Linked DNA regions of Homo sapiens: region 2 is linked to region 1. The links are contacts of gene promoters, found by promoter capture Hi-C in blood cells and fetal thymus (Javierre and others, 2016). All regions are on one chromosome and are shown on one strand. The core of a region is centred on a gene start or on the middle of the fragment in contact, and the rest is flanking DNA. Distances in the headings are between cores, read along the strand shown.

Region 1 (7,420 bases), core at 1,426-3,925:
CCTCCATGTCCGAGGGCTCAGTCTAGTCCTCAGCCCACTCCACCTCAGCCGGGAACCAAAGCCACTCACCTCCATAAATGATACGGGTGCTCTGAGCCACCGCATCAGAGACGTTGGACTTCAGCCATCCTCGGAGCTTCTCGTGTACTTCCTGGGCCTAGAACAAGAAGCTGGCCTAAGTAAGACCTTTTCTGCCTCTCTAAGAGGAAAAATCACTGGCACCAGTGGACACTTAGTGTGGTTTCTGACTGAGTCAGAGTACCAGGGCTCTGATCCAAGCCAGGCCCTGGACTGGATGCCCTTGGACAAGTCACTGTCTCTGGGTTCAAGGTCTCTGTGTCTTTGAAATAAGGGGTTGCCCCATGTGGGCTGTGTCTGTCCAAACCTATTGAGGCAGGCTGGGATGAGGGCAGGGCTCCTGGGCCCGGTTACCTGTTGGGGTGTTGCAGTCTTGCCAGTACCAATGGCCCACACAGGCTCATAGGCCAGGACGACCTTGCTCCAGTCCTTCACGTTATCTGCAGGGCAGAGATACAGATGGAGGGAAGGGTGAACAAGAAAGAGCTCTCCAGCCAGGTTCTCCGGAGTACGAAGAACGGTGGCCTACTGCCCCCTAGTGGACATTGGGGGATTTCCAGGTGGCATCTACCTTGGGGCTGGAGAAGTCATAGGCCCCAAGCAAAGATTGTCACTCCCCCTCCCCTTTTTCCTTTTCTGGATCAGCATGGGGACCAAGACAGGCTCCAGGGCCTGACCCTACCCTCTGAGTCTCTGTGGCCCTGGATAGGCTCAAAGGTCCCTTTCTCCAGAGATACCTGCGATGACCTTTGTCTGCTCGAAAACAACCTTCTCAGTGATGCCAGCTTCCCTTTCATCTAGCTTCTCCCCAATGCAGGCGATTACTCCGAGTCCCTCTGCCAGAGCATGGGCCACTTTCTGCCCAATCAGCTGTTGAGAAACAGACTTGGTGAGACATCCTTCTTGGAAAAAGACATCCCTTATCTTCTCTCTTGGCTACTAACCTCATCTGACTCCCCAAAGACATGCCTTCTCTCTGAGTGCCCCAGGACCACCCACGTGGCTCCGCAGTCTTTGATCATGCCAGGGCTAAAGGAAGAGATGAAGCCAAGGTTCAGCAGGGAGCCCACCCTGTGGCTTTCCCCTCAACGAGGAAAGTGAGGGAAGGGTCCCACACACCCCTCTCCACCTCGATCTCACCTGATCTCCCCAGTAAAAGCCCCATTAGTCACTTTGTAGCAGTTCTGCGCAGCCACAGCAATCTTGGGATCTAGCTTCTGCCGGGCGAAGTCGATATAGGCAGTAGGGGGAGCACAAACCACCTCTGAGGACAAGATGGTACCACAGGGGGATGAGACTAAAGAAAGCCTTCATTCCCCACAATTCCTAACCAGTGCCCTGGAGCCCCCCAGCCCTCACCCTCTTCTTCTTGGTTCTGCTCTCCCCCTTTTCACCCCAGCAAGATGACCTTTGTCCATTTTCCAGCCCAGGCTGGGTCTGCACTCAACTCGAAGAGCCTTCCAGATACCCCTGAGAGGCCACGGCCCTCACCCTGCCCTCTGCTCTTTTAACAGCTGGGGCTCCAATTTCCTCGAGCTATTCTCGGCATAGGCACCTCACAGACTCAGCATTCTCCAGGGAGCAACCCTGCTTCCCTTCTAAAATAGCCCATCCTCACCTCCCCTTTGCAAGGCAAGGATTTGTAGCAAAAGGAGAGGGGCCAACTCCTGGGGTTTGTATTGAGGCCTCTGGGGAATGAACGAGAAGGGGATGCCTCTTTGGATCAGGCCCGCGGCTCTCCGATTTCGGTGGAGGGAGGAAGGAGGATGGAGGAGAGCATCCTTTGCCCGTGGGTGGCAGAGACCTAACTGACTCAGAGGCCTTGCGCTTTGCTGTTTCCAGGTTGGGGAAAGCGGTAGGATGGCTCCTCACTCCCAAATCGCTCAGCCTGTTTGGCACGGGCTCGGTCCCTTCCGTGGAAGGCGGGAGTCGTTCAGGTTGCCGAAGGGAAGGGGTCAGATCTGGGGCTCAGGGAGCCCGAGCAGCTCGGCGCGGGGACGCGGACGCCGGCGAGGAAGGGGAGGAGTCTGGGGCTACGTGCGGCGGCGCACGGCGCGGGAGGCCAGGGCGCAGGGAGCGGGAAGCCCACGCGGCCCAGCCTCCCCCGGTCTCCCGCAGAGCCTCGGGCTCCGCTCCTAACCCCGTCGCCTGGCGGGCACAGCCCCAGTGCGCGCCCCGGGGCCACCTTCCTCCAGGAGACCCAAAACGTCCTTACCTGCCCCATAGTCCAAGGGGCATCATGTGCTCCGCCCTGCCCCCTCGACGCACCGACGGGGCTGCGGCTGCGAGGCCCCTGCCCGGACCCCAGCGGCCCTCGTCCCACAGCCCTGCATCAGGTCCGCGCGGATACCGGCCTCGGGGCCTCGGGGCCTCGGGAGAGGGCGCTGCCACTCCTGCCCCGGCCCCGGCCCCGGCCCGGCCAGACCCCTCCTCGGCGAGGGCTTACCGGTGTCGGCCGGCACCTTGGCCGCGTTCAGAGTGCCGATGAGCTCCCCCAGACTCTGCTTCCGCCCGTTCATCTTCCAGTTTCCCCCAACGAAGAACTTCCTGGAGGGCGCCATGGCGCTGGAGCCGAGGCGCTGAAGGTCAGTGTCTGCGCGCAGTCGCGGCCACTGCCCACTTATATAGAGCGCCGCGAAGTGGAACTCCGCCTCCTCGCCGTCCTCCGCCATGGCCCGCCCAGTCCCCCGGAGCCCTGCCCCCCGCCCGCCCTCCTGCCGCCGCCCCGGCCGCCGCCCGATGATGCACTGTTCCGACGTTCCCCCTTCTTGTGGCAACGTTCTAGGAGAGTCGGGGGCTCGGTCGCCTCCGCCTCGATTGCGGGGCTTTCGGGACAAGGCGAGACCTGTGAGCTCCGGCGCTCAGGGGAACCCTCGCTTGGCGACTTGAGTCCCCCACGGGGCCAGAAGTGGTTTTCAAGCGGAACTAGCTGGTGGCAACTTGGCCGTAGCCCAGATCGCCCACTGGGGCAGAGAGGGCCCCTCTCCAACTGTGGGATAGACAACCTCCTTCGCCCATCGGAGCAGCTCATGCCCGACTGCTGAGCAGGCACCCTTGTACCCAGGGAGTCTACCTGAGTGAAAACTTGCGGGACAAATGCAGGGTTCACAGCGGGAGGGGCAGCCCACACAGGCATAGGCCGCCAGGATCATCCCAACCCTCGCCCCGGCTGGCAAGGCCTGGCAGGAACTGCAGGGACTGAGTCCCAGCCTGAAGCCAGCTAGCCAGTTAGGGACATTTGGGAAATCCTCCACTCCTGTGTGAATAAAGAGAGGGAAGGGTTCTTCACTCCATCTTTCCTTGGCTTTGTGTCGGCATTTAGTCACTCTACTCCACCTCCCCACCCAACCCCAATTTTCCTAGAGCTCTAGAACCAGTGAAAAGTGGAGACTTGACTTTGGCAGGGAGGCGGCCAGAGTTAGGAGTTTTCTTAAGCGCCCTCCTGCTAACCCCAGGAAGGTAAGCCTCTCCCCCAAGGTATCAAACAGGACACAATTTAGCCGTTGTACTTTTATTCACATCGTGTATTTTGGCATTTTCCAGAGAAGGACAAGGAAGAGACAGGGTGGGGGAAAGACTGAGGCAGGAGGGCAAGTCGGGGGGTCCCTATTTCCCTCACATCCCTCCTTGACCAACCACACAGGGGCAAACAAAGGGGGAGGGGAGGCACAGGTGATCGCTCCACTGGGAGAGGATGCACAAAGCTACACCCACGCGCACAAACGAGACCCCTCCCTCCACACCAGGGGGCTGGGCGGGGCGACACAGAGAAGCAGAGCACTGTGGATTCCGGGGGCAGGGGAAGCAACAAAGTCTCCTTACAGACAGGTGGCCGGCCCCTCCCGTCCCCGTCCTGCTCCATCCCCAGAGTCTATCGCTGCCCCTCTGCTCTGCCCAGCCATTCTCCCACGGCCTCCAGCTTCTTCCCTGCTGCCGGGGACAAAAGGAAAAAGGGTACAGAGCAGAGGGGCTGAAGTCCATCCCTCAGCCCCTCTCCCTCATGCCAGGTGGTCTTCCCCTGCCCTCATTGGTAAGGGGTGAGGCAGGCTCTTAGCTGGCCACTCTCTGGTAGAAGTAGATGTAGCCCAGGTCCTTGGGCGGCTTCTCGGAGGCACACACTTTCTGGTCATTGTAGATCACCCATCTGGGGAAGTGGGGAAAACAGAAAAGGATGAACAAACTGGGCATTCAAAGTGGCATCATGTAGTCTCTCAGACATGGCCCCTGGAAGTGCTCTCCACACTCTCTGCCCATACCCCAAATCCACAGCCCAGCCACCATGTGCCTTAAGGGAGCTTCACAACCTCACAAGGGTCACGGACCCTATTATGTCTTCAGATCCTCCAGTACCTTTACAACCACCCTCCACCCATTCCAGGGAGGCAGGGGGTTGGTAAACTTTTTCTGGCAAGGGCCAGATAGTATTTGAGGTTCTGCAGGCTCTCTCTCTGGTCTCTGACACAACGACTCAACTTTCCTGCCGCAGCGTGAAAACAGGCACAAACAACACATAAACAAGTGTGTCCAGGTTCCAGTGAAAATTTATTTACAAAGGCAGGGGGCCTGGCCAGGCACGGTAGCTCATGCCTGTAATCCTAGCACTTTGGGAGGCCGAGGCAGAAGGATCACTTGAGCTCAGGAGTTCAAGACCAGCCTGGGCAACATAGTGAGATCCCATCTCTATTTAAAAAAAAAGCTGGTGGCCAGATCCAACCCTTGGGCCAATCACTGCTGCAAGACCTTCTGTCACTCTCTGGCACTTTATGTCCCCATCAGGCAGTCCCTTCACCTTCTCCCATAGCTATCCCAAGGACTTCCAAATGGCCCTCCTCATTCCCACCACCATTCTCCATTCAAAACGCATGTGGCCAGCACTCACCTGCCTTCTTTCTTGATGTGGCAGACGTAGTGACCACACATGGTAGAGGTGCCCATGTGACTAATGAAGGCAAAGAGCTGATACTCTAGGAAAGGAGAGAGGGGGTCAGAGAAGGAAACAGAAGAGGAATGCTTGAGTGATGGCCCAAAGATCCAGACAACAGCTCAGACTCAGGACAGGAGTTTCAGGGAATGTGAGGCAGGTACTGGGCCAGAGCCTGTCTCCATGTCAGAGAACCCCACCCTCAGATGCCACGTTGAGGTGGAAAGAAGCCCCTGACTCCTGAGGAGGGCAGAGCTGCCTGAATGAGGGATCTGGTGTAGTAGACTGACCAGATTCCACCAGGCCTGTCCTGCTTCCTGGGGATACTCACTTCCAGGACCATCCCGGACTTTAGGTCCCACTGGCACAGACTCAGAGATGGAGTCGGCAGCTGAGCGGCCCTCTGAGATGTCCATGGCAGCTTCAGCATCCAGGTCGTCAATGTGACTGAAGATCCAGTCCACAGCCCGTTCTAAACTATTGTTCTTGGAGAGGAAGGAAGCATTACTTTTTTTCTTGAGACGGAGTCTTGCTCTGTCGCCCAGGCTGGAGTGCAGTGGCGCGATCTCGGCTCACTGCAAGCTCCGCCTCCCGGGTTCACGCCTTTCTCCTGCCTCAGCCTCCCAAGTAGCTGGGACTACAGACGCCCACCACCACGCTTGGTTAATTTTTTGTATTTTTCGTAGAGACGGGGTTTCACCGTGTTAGCCAGGATGGTCTTGATCTGCTGACCGCGTGATCCGCCCACCTCACCCTCCCAAAGTGCTGGGATTACAGGCGTGAGCCACCGCGCCCGGCCAAACAGAAGCATTACATTTTTAACAAGTTCTGGGGCAAAAAACCCAGCAGTGAACGCAGGCTTCAGCTCCTTCATCGCAGCCACAAAAGAGTGGTGCCCAACCTCGGCCAGACCACACCTGTTGTCTTTGGTCTTGCTCAAGAAGGATGGCCCCTCATTCCCACCCCCTTCTTCCCCACTGGCCCCATGTCCTTAGCTGGGGCAGCCCATACCGTGGCCCGCAGCGCTTTCAAGGCCTGGTCCCGGGAGAAGCCCATGGAGACAATGGTGGTCACACAGTCCTCAGGAGGGGGGTCGGCTGCTGCGCTTGTGGAGCCCGGCCCACTAGAGCCAGGCAGGATGAGGGGGTTTGCAAAATCTGTGGATGTGAAGGGGTTGATGTGTTTGGGGGAGGATGGAGGCCCTGCCCCACCCTGCTCCCCACCCCAGCCTACCTGGATCATCCATGTGTGACATGACCCAGTTCATGGCGGCCTCAGCCCCGCTGTTGCCCGTGTAGTAGACAGCTTTGCGGCAGGCGTCCATAGGGAATCCCATCTCCACCAGCTGGATGATGACTGATTCATCCAGCATGGGCGCTGTAATGGGAATTGTGGGTACACGGACCGACTGATTGGGCCACTGTTTGCTCCTCCTCCCTCCCCCAGGACCCAGCCCTCTTCCAATCACCCATTCCATGCATTTTTCTCCCATGGATTGGCACCTTATCCCAAAACCAAAATGACCACACAATTGTAATGTGGGTCCCTGCCCATTCTCACAGAATGGGCCCTGTTTCTGGAGCATGATACCCCCACCCTACCCAAACCAGGGAGGTAACAAGGGCAGAGAGGCCACTAGCTGGCACTGCTGCCATCCACACCCAGAAGGTGGCTAGGAGTGCGCTGGGGAGGCCCCATGTCAATCAAAGAGGGCAGAGGAAATTTGAAAGGGAGGACAGGAGAAACACAAAGGACAGGGGCAGGGGATGCAAGGCAGAGAGGCCCCCATCAGCACGGGAGAGAGACAGGCAGGAAGAAGAGTCACTAACATGTCGGAGAGGAGAAGTGAGGGGAGCAGAAGGAGTCTTCGTCTTCGTTGCCATAGAAACCAAGGCTACCTTTGGGCTCATCCGGAGTGACCAGGGGTGGGGCAATGTCTGGCAGCTCCTCCTCTCCGGGCTGCAGCCCTGTGCCCCTCAACTGGGAGATGTCGAGCTCCTCTGGCATCTCGATGGACACATCTGTGGGAAAAGGGTCACCTCAGCAGCTCCCGGAGGCCTACCTGGAAAGTGATTCGGGAACCTCAATCCCCTGCCCCCTATGTCAGAACTGCTCTGTAAAGAGGAGCTGCTAAAAGCACGGCACCCATCTTAGGGGTCCCAGTATAAGACAAATAATACTAAGCCTGGGAGTTGGGAGGCCAGGATGCTGGTCCTAGATCTACCATAAATAATCTATGGACAGGGCAGGGGGCCTAGAACTTGTGAGACAGAATGATTTTATATTCCTGTGAGTCTCAACTTCCTTATCTAGAAAATGAAGGTACATCACGAGTTCTCAAATGACAGTCAGGGACCTGTAAGACTCACGAGAATTAATTGTTTCAAGATTATCAAAATGAAAACATTTTACCAATTATTT
Region 2 (2,968 bases), core at 1-2,500, 110 kb before region 1:
ACAGTATTCATAGGATAAACAAATAGCAAATGTACAGCCTTGGCTTCCCCAAACTCCACAGTCTCAGTGCAGAAAGATCATCTTCCAGCAGTCAGCTCAGACCAGGGTCAAAGGATGTGACATCAACAGTTTCTGGTTTCAGAACAGGTTCTACTACTGTCAAATGACCCCCCATACTTCCTCAAAGGCTGTGGTAAGTTTTGCACAGGTGAGGGCAGCAGAAAGGGGGTAGTTACTGATGGACACCATCTTCTCTGTATACTCCACACTGACCTAAGAAAAGAACAGTTTTGTCAGCCAACTCTGTCACTCAGTAGCTGTTTCAGCCCTTCTTTAGGGCAGGAAAACTATGGCTGAGCTAGTATTTCAGCTGTGCTGTTGAATATCAAATCCCTACAAAGGATGAAGAAGGTCCTAACTGTGACTTCCAATTATGGCAGCAGCCCTCAAAGGATGTGCCCTGGGGCAGGGTGTGGAACTGTCATGTGTCTTCTAGCTCATTGTAAGCATTGTTAAAATGCCTACTGCTCTGGGAATTCTATACTAAGTTCAGCTCTACCAAGAATTTCAGGGTTGAGCCCAGACCTTACCTTGCCATGGGCAAAGGCCCCTACCACAAAAACAATAGGATCACTGCTGGGCACCAGCTCACGCACATCACTGACAACCGGGATGGAAAAAGAAGTGCCAACTTTCATACATCCAACTGGAAAGTGATCTGATACTGGATTCTTAATTACCTAAAGTAAAAAAGAGAGAAAAGTCAGCCCCAGAAACATTCCCAGAACCAGCCTTCAACTAACAGGTTTCAATACCTCACCTTCAAAAGCTTCTGGGGGCCATCAGCTGCTCGAACACTGAGCTTGTGTAAAAGTTGAACTAGAAGGGGGAAAAAAGAGTTCAGAGCTAGATGGAGACCACAGTCCTTCTGTCCAGTCATCGAACAAGGAAAACCCCATGGATAAGATGAGTTCCCTGTGTGCTTTATATCTAGACTGGACTCCTGAAATGTTAGGAACAAACAGTTGCCAAGCATATGGCTAGCTGTACAGTGATGGGTTCAGACTCCCTCTTTCACTCAGCCAGGAAGCTACTGCAAGAACAGGAGTGGAGTTTCCACAAACATAGAAAAATAATAACAGTCCTTGTCCTGGTATTAATCATGTTGTTCTCCCATTTTCTCGCTTAAAAATCCACATTTAGTTCTCCCTTTTCCTCTTCCTCCCTTCTTCCCTACTGACAAGTTCATTCTAACTTTGTTCTAAGGCTTCTTACCCATGAGGCCACAAAAGCGGTCAAAGGTTCTGGGAATTCGGGTCTGGGGATTCACTTCAATCAGAACATTCTTCTGTGTATGGATATAAACCTGTAGCAAGCCAGCTCGGTTCAGGGGACTATCCATCAGCATCAGCAAACTCTGAGCAAAGCAGAAACCGAGACATGGTTAAGGCTGAAGAGAGGCAGCACTCAGCTGCCAACCCTTCCATACAGAGGCTCAAAGGGTTGTGAGCACTGTCCCTGGAGTTACCTGGTGGGTGATATCTGGCCGCGCTTCCCCAGGGTCCCGTCCATTCTTCAACAATATAGACTTGTGCTTGTCACAGTTGAGTAGCTCATATGTCTTCCCTACCTGAAGAACAGGGAACATGACGAGAGAACAGCATAAGCTTCTGTTACCTAGCCCCGTGGTTCTTCAAGTGTGGTCCCCAAACTACCAGCAGCAGCTGCACCTGGAAACTTGTTAGGCAAATTCTCAGGCCCACCCTAGACCTACTAAACCAGGAACACTGGGGGTGGAGCCCAGCAAGCCCTTCGGGGGATTACTGTGCAGCCTTATTTGCACTCCCCAGTGAATGGTCTGAGAGGGAAACAGGAGGAAGGGCACAACCTGTGACTTCACATTATCTACTAATACACTGGATTTAATTAAAAAACCTGTGGCTGTTAGGCAAGGCCAATGAGACATCCTGGAACTAGGCAGGAGTTAGTAGTTAGCAAGGCTGAATGCTGTGTTTATTACAGGAGCAGTAAGTAGGTACTGTGCAAAATATCGAGTCACCACCCTCAGTTTGCGTACACCAAACATGCACTAAGTGAAGAGCTGCAAATCTGAACAAGAAATGTGAAGGCCGGGCGTGGTGGCTCACGCCTGTAATCCCAGCACTTTGGGAGGCCGAGGCGGGCAGATCACAAGGTCAGGAGATTGAGACCATCGTGGCTAACACGGTGAAACCCCATCTCTACTAAAAATATAAAAAATTAGCCGGGCATGGTGGCAGGCGCCTGTAGTCCCAGCTACTTGGGAGGCAGAGGCAGGAGAATGGCATGAACCCAGGAGGCGGAGCTTGCAGCGCCACTGCACTCCAGCCCGGGCAACAGAGCGAGACTCCATCTCAAAAAAAAGAAATGTGAAAACTAATGATGCAGGAGGCAGTTTAATCAAAGAAAACTCTCAGAAGTAAAAGGAAGAGGGGTTATTCCCAGTTTTAAGACGGGCATGGGGGCAGATGCAGTGGCTCACGGCTGTAATCCCAGCACTCTGGGAGGCCAAGGCAGGCAAATCACTTAAGGTCAGGAGTTCAAGACCAGCCTGGGCAACATGGCGAAACCCCATCTCTACTAAAAATACAAAAATTAGCTGGGCATGGTGGCACATGCCTGTAGTCCTAGCTACTTGGGAGGCTAAGGTGGGAGGATGGCTTGAGCCCAGGAGACAGAGATTGCAGTGAGCCAAGACTGTACCACTGCACTCCAGCAAGACCCTGTCTCAAAAAAAAGAAAAAAGAAAGACTGGCATGAGCAAAGGTACAGATGGAATCAAGACAAAGTAGCCAGGTGTGGTGGCTTATGCCTGTGATCCCAACACTTTAGGAGGCCGAGGTGGAAGGATCACTTGAGCCCAGGAATTTGAGACCGGCCTGGGCAACACGGTGGGACCCTGTCTCACAAAAAAAAAAAAAAAAATTAG

The links. The method cuts DNA at HindIII sites, captures the fragments that hold promoters and counts their contacts. A CHiCAGO score of 5 or more calls a contact.
Region 2: a contact is called between a fragment that was not itself captured here and the fragment with the promoter of TPI1 in region 1, in 6 of 17 cell types (total CD8 T cells, naive CD4 T cells, activated CD4 T cells and 3 more). The highest score is 7.6, in total CD8 T cells.

The regions. Positions count from the first base shown.
Region 1 is chr12:6,862,786-6,870,205 of GRCh38, reverse strand. It overlaps TPI1 (triosephosphate isomerase 1), which reads right to left and starts at 2,675. Exons shown (of 7, transcript NM_000365.6): 1 at 2,525-2,675; 2 at 1,219-1,342; 3 at 1,023-1,107; 4 at 816-948; 5 at 433-518; 6 at 70-157. The coding sequence starts at 2,639. It overlaps USP5 (ubiquitin specific peptidase 5), which reads right to left. Exons shown (of 20, transcript NM_001098536.2): 15 at 6,829-7,020; 16 at 6,233-6,376; 17 at 6,011-6,156; 18 at 5,331-5,484; 19 at 4,958-5,042; 20 at 3,574-4,222. The coding sequence ends at 4,129. RefSeq lists silencers at 2,069-2,508, 2,779-2,828 and enhancers at 3,098-3,759, 3,760-4,422. The HindIII fragment of the contact is 21,039 bases long and covers 1-7,420 here.
Region 2 is chr12:6,973,001-6,975,968 of GRCh38, reverse strand. EMG1 (EMG1 N1-specific pseudouridine methyltransferase) reads right to left here. Exons shown (of 6, transcript NM_006331.8): 2 at 1,529-1,630; 3 at 1,276-1,417; 4 at 821-879; 5 at 591-740; 6 at 1-273. The coding sequence ends at 160. Among named protein-coding and RNA genes, the nearest start is that of EMG1, 3.6 kb to the right of the region's middle. The HindIII fragment of the contact is 838 bases long and covers 832-1,669 here.